Regions from separate parts of the Homo sapiens genome. Here region 1 is linked to region 2. The links are contacts of gene promoters, found by promoter capture Hi-C in human tissues and cell types (Jung and others, 2019). All regions are on one chromosome and are shown on one strand. The core of a region is centred on a gene start or on the middle of the fragment in contact, and the rest is flanking DNA. Distances in the headings are between cores, read along the strand shown. Region 1 overlaps MACROD2 (mono-ADP ribosylhydrolase 2). Region 2 holds the start of OTOR (otoraplin).

What was found. The method cuts DNA at HindIII sites, captures the fragments that hold promoters and counts their contacts. A contact is called where the count stands out against the background at its distance.
Region 1: a contact is called between a fragment that was not itself captured here and the fragment with the promoter of OTOR in region 2, in 1 of the 25 tissues and cell types used here (lymphoblastoid cells).

Annotation. Positions count from the first base shown.
Region 1 is chr20:14,839,288-14,843,166 of GRCh38, reverse strand. The region is part of intron 5 of MACROD2 (mono-ADP ribosylhydrolase 2); the gene reads right to left. Among named protein-coding and RNA genes, the nearest start is that of MACROD2-AS1, 88 kb to the left of the region's middle. The HindIII fragment of the contact is 7,476 bases long and covers 1-3,879 here.
Region 2 is chr20:16,747,006-16,750,768 of GRCh38, reverse strand. OTOR (otoraplin) reads right to left here and starts at 2,411. Exons shown (of 4, transcript NM_020157.4): 1 at 2,253-2,411; 2 at 1,763-1,902; 3 at 759-866. The coding sequence starts at 2,367. The HindIII fragment of the contact is 9,309 bases long and covers 1-3,763 here.

The DNA of each region.
Region 1 (3,879 bases), core at 400-2,899, 1.9 Mb after region 2:
AAAGTTAATGAACATGAAATGAGATGATCAGATAGTTGTTTTATAAAAATTAAGCCAGGGAATAAGAGTTGGGGATGGTAGAAGGGGAGCTAGCAGACCAGAAGCTGGAGAGACAGCCACATTGACAGCCAGGGTGTGAAATGATAAAGACCTGAATTTTTGTTTATGGTATAAATGGAGAGAGAGTGGCACATACACTCTGGGATTTGAACCTTATAGAAAACAACTATGAAAGTGCACCCTCTGAAGACAGGAAATAAAGCCCAAGTTTGACTTCAGACATGTCTCCTGGAAATGACTCCTAGAGTTCATTTTCTTTTCTGATTGAATATTGGACTCTGTTGTTTCACTGAAGACTTCAGTGTACTATGGATGGCATTTCAAGTGCTACTGATTTCCTATATCTGAATGAAAAACATTAATCCAAAACCAAACTAACTGTAGAGATAGAAAAAGATCAGTGTGGAAAGCCAAAGAACATCAAAAATGTCTCAACAATTGTAGGGTATCATTTTCTACTTTAATCGCACACAAATATCTGCTTTGAGTCTAAAAAGCTATCCATCAGTGTTCTCTTTAAAGCTATTATATCTGCCTTAATAATAAGACATTACAAAGCCTAATAGCATACACTTTATATTTCCTCAGATATACTGTAAACAGAACAGAAAAGAGTATCACTATAAATAATTTTTAATAAAGACAGGTCTCAATTTTAAGAAAATACCTCTACATGTAAGTGTTTCAGTGAAATATTCAGGACTAAAGATTACTGCTCTGGGGAGACTTCAGAAAAAAGGTACTGCTATGGTTTGAATGTCCCCTCCAAAATTCATGTTGAAATTTAATTGCCATTGTGATCTTGAGAGGTGGGACCTCTAAGAGGTGATTAGGTCAGGGGGCAGCACCCTCCTGAATGGATGAAGGCTGTTATCATGAGAGTGGGTTTATTATTGCAGAAGTGGGACAGTTATAAAAGAAGGGAGTTAGGCCACATTTCCTCTCTCTAGAGAACGGTCGGTCTCGCCATGCGATGCCTTCAATCATGCCATGATGCAGCAAGAAGGCACTCACCAGATGCAGCCCTTTAATTTTGGACTTCCCAGCCTCTAGACTCGTGAATAAACAAACAAACAAACAAACAAAAAACCTCTTTTCTTTGTAAGTTACCTAGTTGGTGGTATTCTGTTATACAGCAGCAGAAAATGGATGAAGACAGGTACTTATAAAAAAATCACTAAGAATGTCTTAATGTCTAAATGGGGTAGGAAAGGGGGAATGACATGGTCTCTACTCTATAGTACCCAAAATAAAAGTCTTAAAACCAATCTTAGTATAAGTAATACCAAGGTCATAGAATATTTCTTTATTACCCAAAATATGCAATTCCTTTCGTGGTGCATTACCACCTTATAAATGACAGGTAATAAAAGAAAACTCAAGTTTACTTATAATAATGTCATTTTAACTTTCATTTACAACATTGTTTTGCAGTAACTGCCTTGATGAAGGATATTCAAGCTGAAATACAATAGAACAGCAAGACACTTCTATCTGATCACCTACAAAAGCTGCATTGTAGTGTCATTCAAATACATTGTATGTGGCAAGGGCTGCCTTTCTATATTCTTTTTTTTTTCCTGAAAACATCTACTTGAAAGGTAATCTCAGGTAGTCTCCAACACTGTAAGCTAAGGTTTTGAAAGTTAGGGGAAATATTTCAAAGATCCATTACTTCTTTATCTTTTCCATGACAGTGAAGACGGTGGGGTTTCCCCTTGCCCCTCACCTCAGTGGAAAGTTTCTATTAGAACAAATTACAAAGTAATTAGTTCATTCACTCAATCTACATTAATGAGGGAATTTTTCAATCAAAACCTCTGATTTGATTGTCAGAGAAACTCTCAGAGGAATGCCTATTTAATTTCTTTTCTTCATTATTTTATCTATGTGATAAAGTTATCTTATAGAACATCAGTCATTTAACTATAACTGAGTTCTCTATTTTCACAATTGTTTAAATGCACAGAGATATCAATGGGAATATTTCTCATATTGGTCAAAGGAAAATATTTAGAGTGTAAGCAATAAAAAAATTTAACATTAAAATATGTTATTTTTTACACTCTTAGAGTTATTCTTAGTTTTGACCTGAAATTTACAAATACATTTTTTGAAATAATAACACTCGTTTCACGTCATACAGTAAAAGTTAAGTATTATTATGGAACATCTGATGAAGACAAATCACTCTGACTTATTTCAGAGTGCAGTGTCCTCATACTAGCCCTGCACTCTTTAAGCCAAATTCCATTTTTCATCCTGAAACCTATCAGAATCATGATAAAATATTATAGAACACTGTGATGAGCTTTCAGATAAGAGCAAAGAGTAAAGTGAAAAAGACTTCTTATGTTCCTGAAATGACCTTTCCTTGAAAGAACCTGTCAACCTTTCCAATGAGAGAACATCAATATTTTTAGGGCCAGTTTAACTCAACCTTCCTCTTTTTCTTTTAGTTTTAATGTATGTTGTTCTGGCTGATAAGAGTATTGATTATAGTCTCCCAAGTCTCTCTGGACACAAATGAACAAGTACCTACAGAGGAAAACCCTCCAAGAACACCAGGAGACTGGGCATGGGGGCTCAGGCCTGTAATCCTAGCACTTTGAGAGGCTGAGGTGGGAGGATTGCTTGAGTCCAAGAGCCCAAGACCAGCCTGGGCAACATGGCAAGACCTTGTCCCTACTGGAAAAAAAGAACAGCAGAAAATTATTTTAAGCTTGATCAATTTACTCTTTCAGGAAGCCAGTTTAAGATGGAGATTCTGGCCAGGCGTGATGGCTCACGCTTGTAATCCCAGCACTTTGGGAGTCTGAGATGGACAGATCACTAGAGGCCAGGAGCTCAAGACCAGCCTGGCCAACATGGCGAAACCCCGTCTCTAGTAAAAATACAAAAATTAGCCAGCCATGGTGGCAGGCACCTGTAGTCCCAGCTACTTGGGAGGCTGAGGCAGGAGAATTGCTTGAACCTGGGAGGCAGAGGTTGCAGTGAGCGGAGATAGTACCACTGCACTCCAGCCTGGGCAACAAGAGTGAAACTCCATCTCAAAAAAGAAAAAAAAAAAAAAGACATGGAGACTCTAAAAGATGTTTTATATACTAGCTGCAAGTAGAAGGATGAGTAACAAACATCCCTGAGAACAAAGGAAGAGGGAAGAGACATTTTACCATTTTCATCACCCCTTTCCAATTTGAGAAAATGGAGAGCAAAAGGTGTCTGGTAGTTTAAAGATTCAGCAGTAGAATATTGAGAATTTCTGGTAAAACCTAATCTAAAATTTTAGAAAATTCCTGCTTATACCTATAATCGGAATTCAGCAGTGTTGGTGAAGTTGGGGAGGGGGCTCTCTTTTTCCTAATATCCAAAAATCAGTTCTCCTCTTCCAAATATAAGTTTTACCCAAATACTGGCCATCTGATCAATGTCCACCAGTATCATGTTAAATGGTCAATGCCTCCAAATCACTGTCAGTTCTGGGGACATACTCAGAGACAACTATAAGAGACTGGAGCAAAAATTACTTAGGAACCAATTTTAAGCCCCACCATGCCATGATAAACATTATTTTATGGGAAATGGGAAACCTCAAGTGACCCAGCCCATATAACTTGCATGTGTGTGTCAACTGGAGATGGGCCAACAGCCATTACAAAGATCATGTTTCTTTGTCTTACATGCTGGTATTCCAAAGGCAATGTAATTTAAGACAAAAGCTGCTTTTCCAATGTCCACAAAGTACTCAGCTTAAATCAAATTCTTTCATGCGATCTCTCATTCCATCAGACTTGTGTTTTAAAGTATTAAGAAGCTAAA
Region 2 (3,763 bases), core at 1,162-3,661:
ACCTTGCAAAGTAGCTCAGAAAGCATCTTTTATTTCTGTCCTGAGTTTACAGGACCCCAGGGCATTAGGAAGAGTATAACTTTATTTCATACATAAATAGAATCTATTTACCACAAAAATAAGACATTCAAAGATTGTTCTAGAATATTTCGATTTGATCAAAAACATAATAATTTTTTTTCAGCCTATCTTTAGTGAAAACCATCTGTAAGAGTCAGTGCTGACTTTGGTTTCTTTATTTGTTACATAGACTGCTTTGCAAGACAACTTGCATCTAAAACAAAAGAGGTACTGTATTGTATACTTGAAATTTACTAAGAGGGCAGATCTTAATGTTTTCACACACACACACACACACACACACAAAGGTAACTATGTGAGGTGATGTATGTGTTAACTAGCTTGAATGTGATGATCATTTCACAATGTATATCAAAACATAATGTATGCATTAAATGTATGCAATTTTTATTTGTCAATTATAACCCAATAAAGCTGAAAAAATATAGAAAAAAGATGAGACAAAAAGTAGTAAACTGAAATAAAACAAAAGGGGGTGGTATAGAGAAAGTTTACTCATCTTTCAACTTTGACAGTAGTTATAAATGGTCCCCCAAACCTCATTATCTCAGAAAAGTCGCCACTGAAAGTTGGAGGCTTTGTTCTATACAACTTGTAAGTTGCATGATGCATTTTTAACACCGGCCTACATTGCCCCAAGATCTGAGTCCTTGTCTAGTCACTTTTGAGATGCTTACCGTGGTGGGAACTTCCTTGGTAGCTTCCTGGTACACACGCTGTTCCTTGACCAAGTTCCTGGGGAAATAACCCACGACTCCCATCTCGTCCTGGCCATCACCATAAACCTAAGTGCCCAGAAGAATAGCAATCAGGAAAAAGCTGATGCTGAGTGTCTTCTGAGAAACTCGCAGGCGTCCTCTTTGCTGATAGTGAGAATCATAGCTGCCAATACCTCCCTTTCACTCCGGGGTCCAGGGGGCGCTGCGGCAAATCCGAAGTTTACTTGGAGCACTAAGTTAACCCGCAGGAATTGTGCATCTACTGTTTAGTGGCCCAGTCTTATTTCGCTACTTTAGCATGACTTTATTTTACGCAATCTTGTGAGTTGCCTGAAATCTTTTTTGAACCCATAAATAAATATATAAAGACAGTACATTTTTTTAAAGTACTGTAGACACTTATTTTAAATGATGCAAATTTCTCAGTTTTCAACAATTCAAATGAACAGACTTAAATGGCTTTAAATTTAATCCTTCATTAATTTAGAACTTACCTTTAGGGTTGCAGATGAGGACAGAAAATCATCCCTGCTTCATCCCTCCCCAGGGACCGCCCCTGTATATTTTAACTGAAGAACGCTGATTCTTTCGAATTAATTAGGGTGCAAAGTTTCCTAAAAGAATATTGATACTTAGACTCACTGCCAACACACATGCCTTCTACTTGGCAAATCTTCTCAGACGTTTTCGGATAAGATTCAAATTCTTTGGGATGTTTAAGCCCCCATGTATTTGACTCTTTTTTTACCAAAATATCACATTAACCTACATTTGGTTTTGTTACGAAATTGATCTTTCTTTCTTTAAAATGCAATAGCAAATATACCTGAATTTTTGCATTTCCATCTACAATCACTACATGGTTCTTAACAACTAGTATTAAGCATTAAAATAGGTTGAAGGTAGGTAATCAAGGAAAGGTTAAGAGCAATATTCGTCAATAGGTGTTTAAATTATCTTACACTGCCAGCCCAAAATTCTCCAGCTCCATTTTCTTTTACCAGCTTTGAGTACACATAGATCTGCTGCCCTTTTTTAACGTTAATGAATCTACAGTCCGGGGCATTATAATCTTCTTGAGCACTAGCCAGAGAAATAGTATCTGGAAGAAAAAAAATTTAAATGATTACATTTTAGGCTCCTGAATTTTATAACAGTAAAAGGCAATGTATATTAGAAAAACTAGAAAATCAGAGTGACTGATAATTCCCAGTTCATAGCTGGTGTCTATCCAAGAGAAAGAAGACAGCCAAGATATTAAAGCTGCAACAAAACTCAGCCAAGTGAATTCTCCGTAGTAAGATACCAAACATGCAGACCAGAAGAAACAAAGCTGATAACATACACATTGGAGAAGATTCACTTCAAAGTATAATTCGATTTTATGCTATTAGTGGATATATTTTCAATTATGTAATAGAAAGATAATGAAAAGCATAAAAAAGTCCTTACAGACACACTCATCATCTGCACAGAGCTTCTTGGAAGCTAGACGGTCCATAAATATTCCATGCACAGCACATACAGCCACAAGACCCGGGAGGAAAAGTAACAATATTCTTGCCATCTTCCTTTTTTCTGTTTTAACTTGAACTCTGACTGGAAGCGGGGACTGACTTCAGTGGTTCCTGCCTTTTATGTGAAAGCCAGAGCTCTGGGTAAATACCCTGGCCAATTAGAAGGGCCTACCACCCCTCCGTTTTCATAACAGGCTGCTCGGCTTCAGGGGCTATTTAGCGTCTGATTTTCCAAACAGAGTCAAACTCTGTGTCTTTCTATACACAGATAATATCCAAAATGGTCCACTATTGTTAAAGCCGCTTTAGCAGTGGTCTATTGTATCAATCAGTAGGGCTTTGCTGAGAGGACTATGAGAATTTCAAACCATTTTTAGTTTTAATTCACCCCTAATTTTCCTTCAGCTTATGAGCAAAGACATACTAGTTGTAGGAATTTGTTGAAAATGTGAGATCTATAGCACAAATAATTTGATTTAAACAAATTCAATTAATAAATCTGGATTTACGTAATAGATAAATGAAAGATTCTTATGCTTACAAATCTTTCATGATAGGATTCTTAGAAGGCATGCCTGTCCCAGGCTAGAGATGAATTCTAACATACTAATTGATGCCCCATTTAGACCCTACCAGTGGGGAAAGAGATGGGTGGGTTGGGAAAAATAGGTCAATCTTTCCCCTACCTCTTCTCTCTAAGACTTTTGCAATTCAGTCTCAAATGCTCAAGGGTGACAGGTCAAAGAGAAGAGAGTGAAGTTACAAGTTTATGTTACCTGGAACTTCCTGCTTCTGAGCATGTTTCCCATGGGGAGAGGAGCACTCCTAGAGGCACCAAAGTGGAACCGCCAGTCCCTAGCTCCGTCTATTCAGCAAATATTTACTGAGCACTTACTGTGCCAGGTATAGTTCTGGGCACTAAAGATATAGCAGTAAATTTAAAAAAAATATTTTGGCCCCAAGTGTTGCTTTCTATTAGAAGAGACAGACAGTAAGTTACTGCTTTTTATAGGGTGTTTGAGGCTGGCATCTCTCCCATAAGGTGGCCCTTCCCCTGTTCTTATCCATTGCTTCTAGAATAGAGATCCTCTCAGGATGCCTTCTCCACCTTGGTTGATGATGTGACTTCGGAGCAGTGCCTTCTCCCCCAACCCCAAAGTCGTAACCTCATAAAATGAGGGACAAGAATTTAACTTACTAAATAATTTTGTGCAATACAATTTCCCAAGGGATAAATGGGTAAGGCAAAATATAATAAAAAGGTTTTTTGTTTTGGGTATATGTGTGTGTGTGATAGAGTTGTATTGGTTTGAGTGCATCTGTGTGTGTATGTAAAAGAGTTTTGGTGTGGGTATGGGTGTGGGTATGTGTGGCTGTGTGTGAGTGTGTGTGTGTGGCTGTGTGTGTATGTGTGTGTGACTTTCAAGGGAGGATCTTTTATATAGC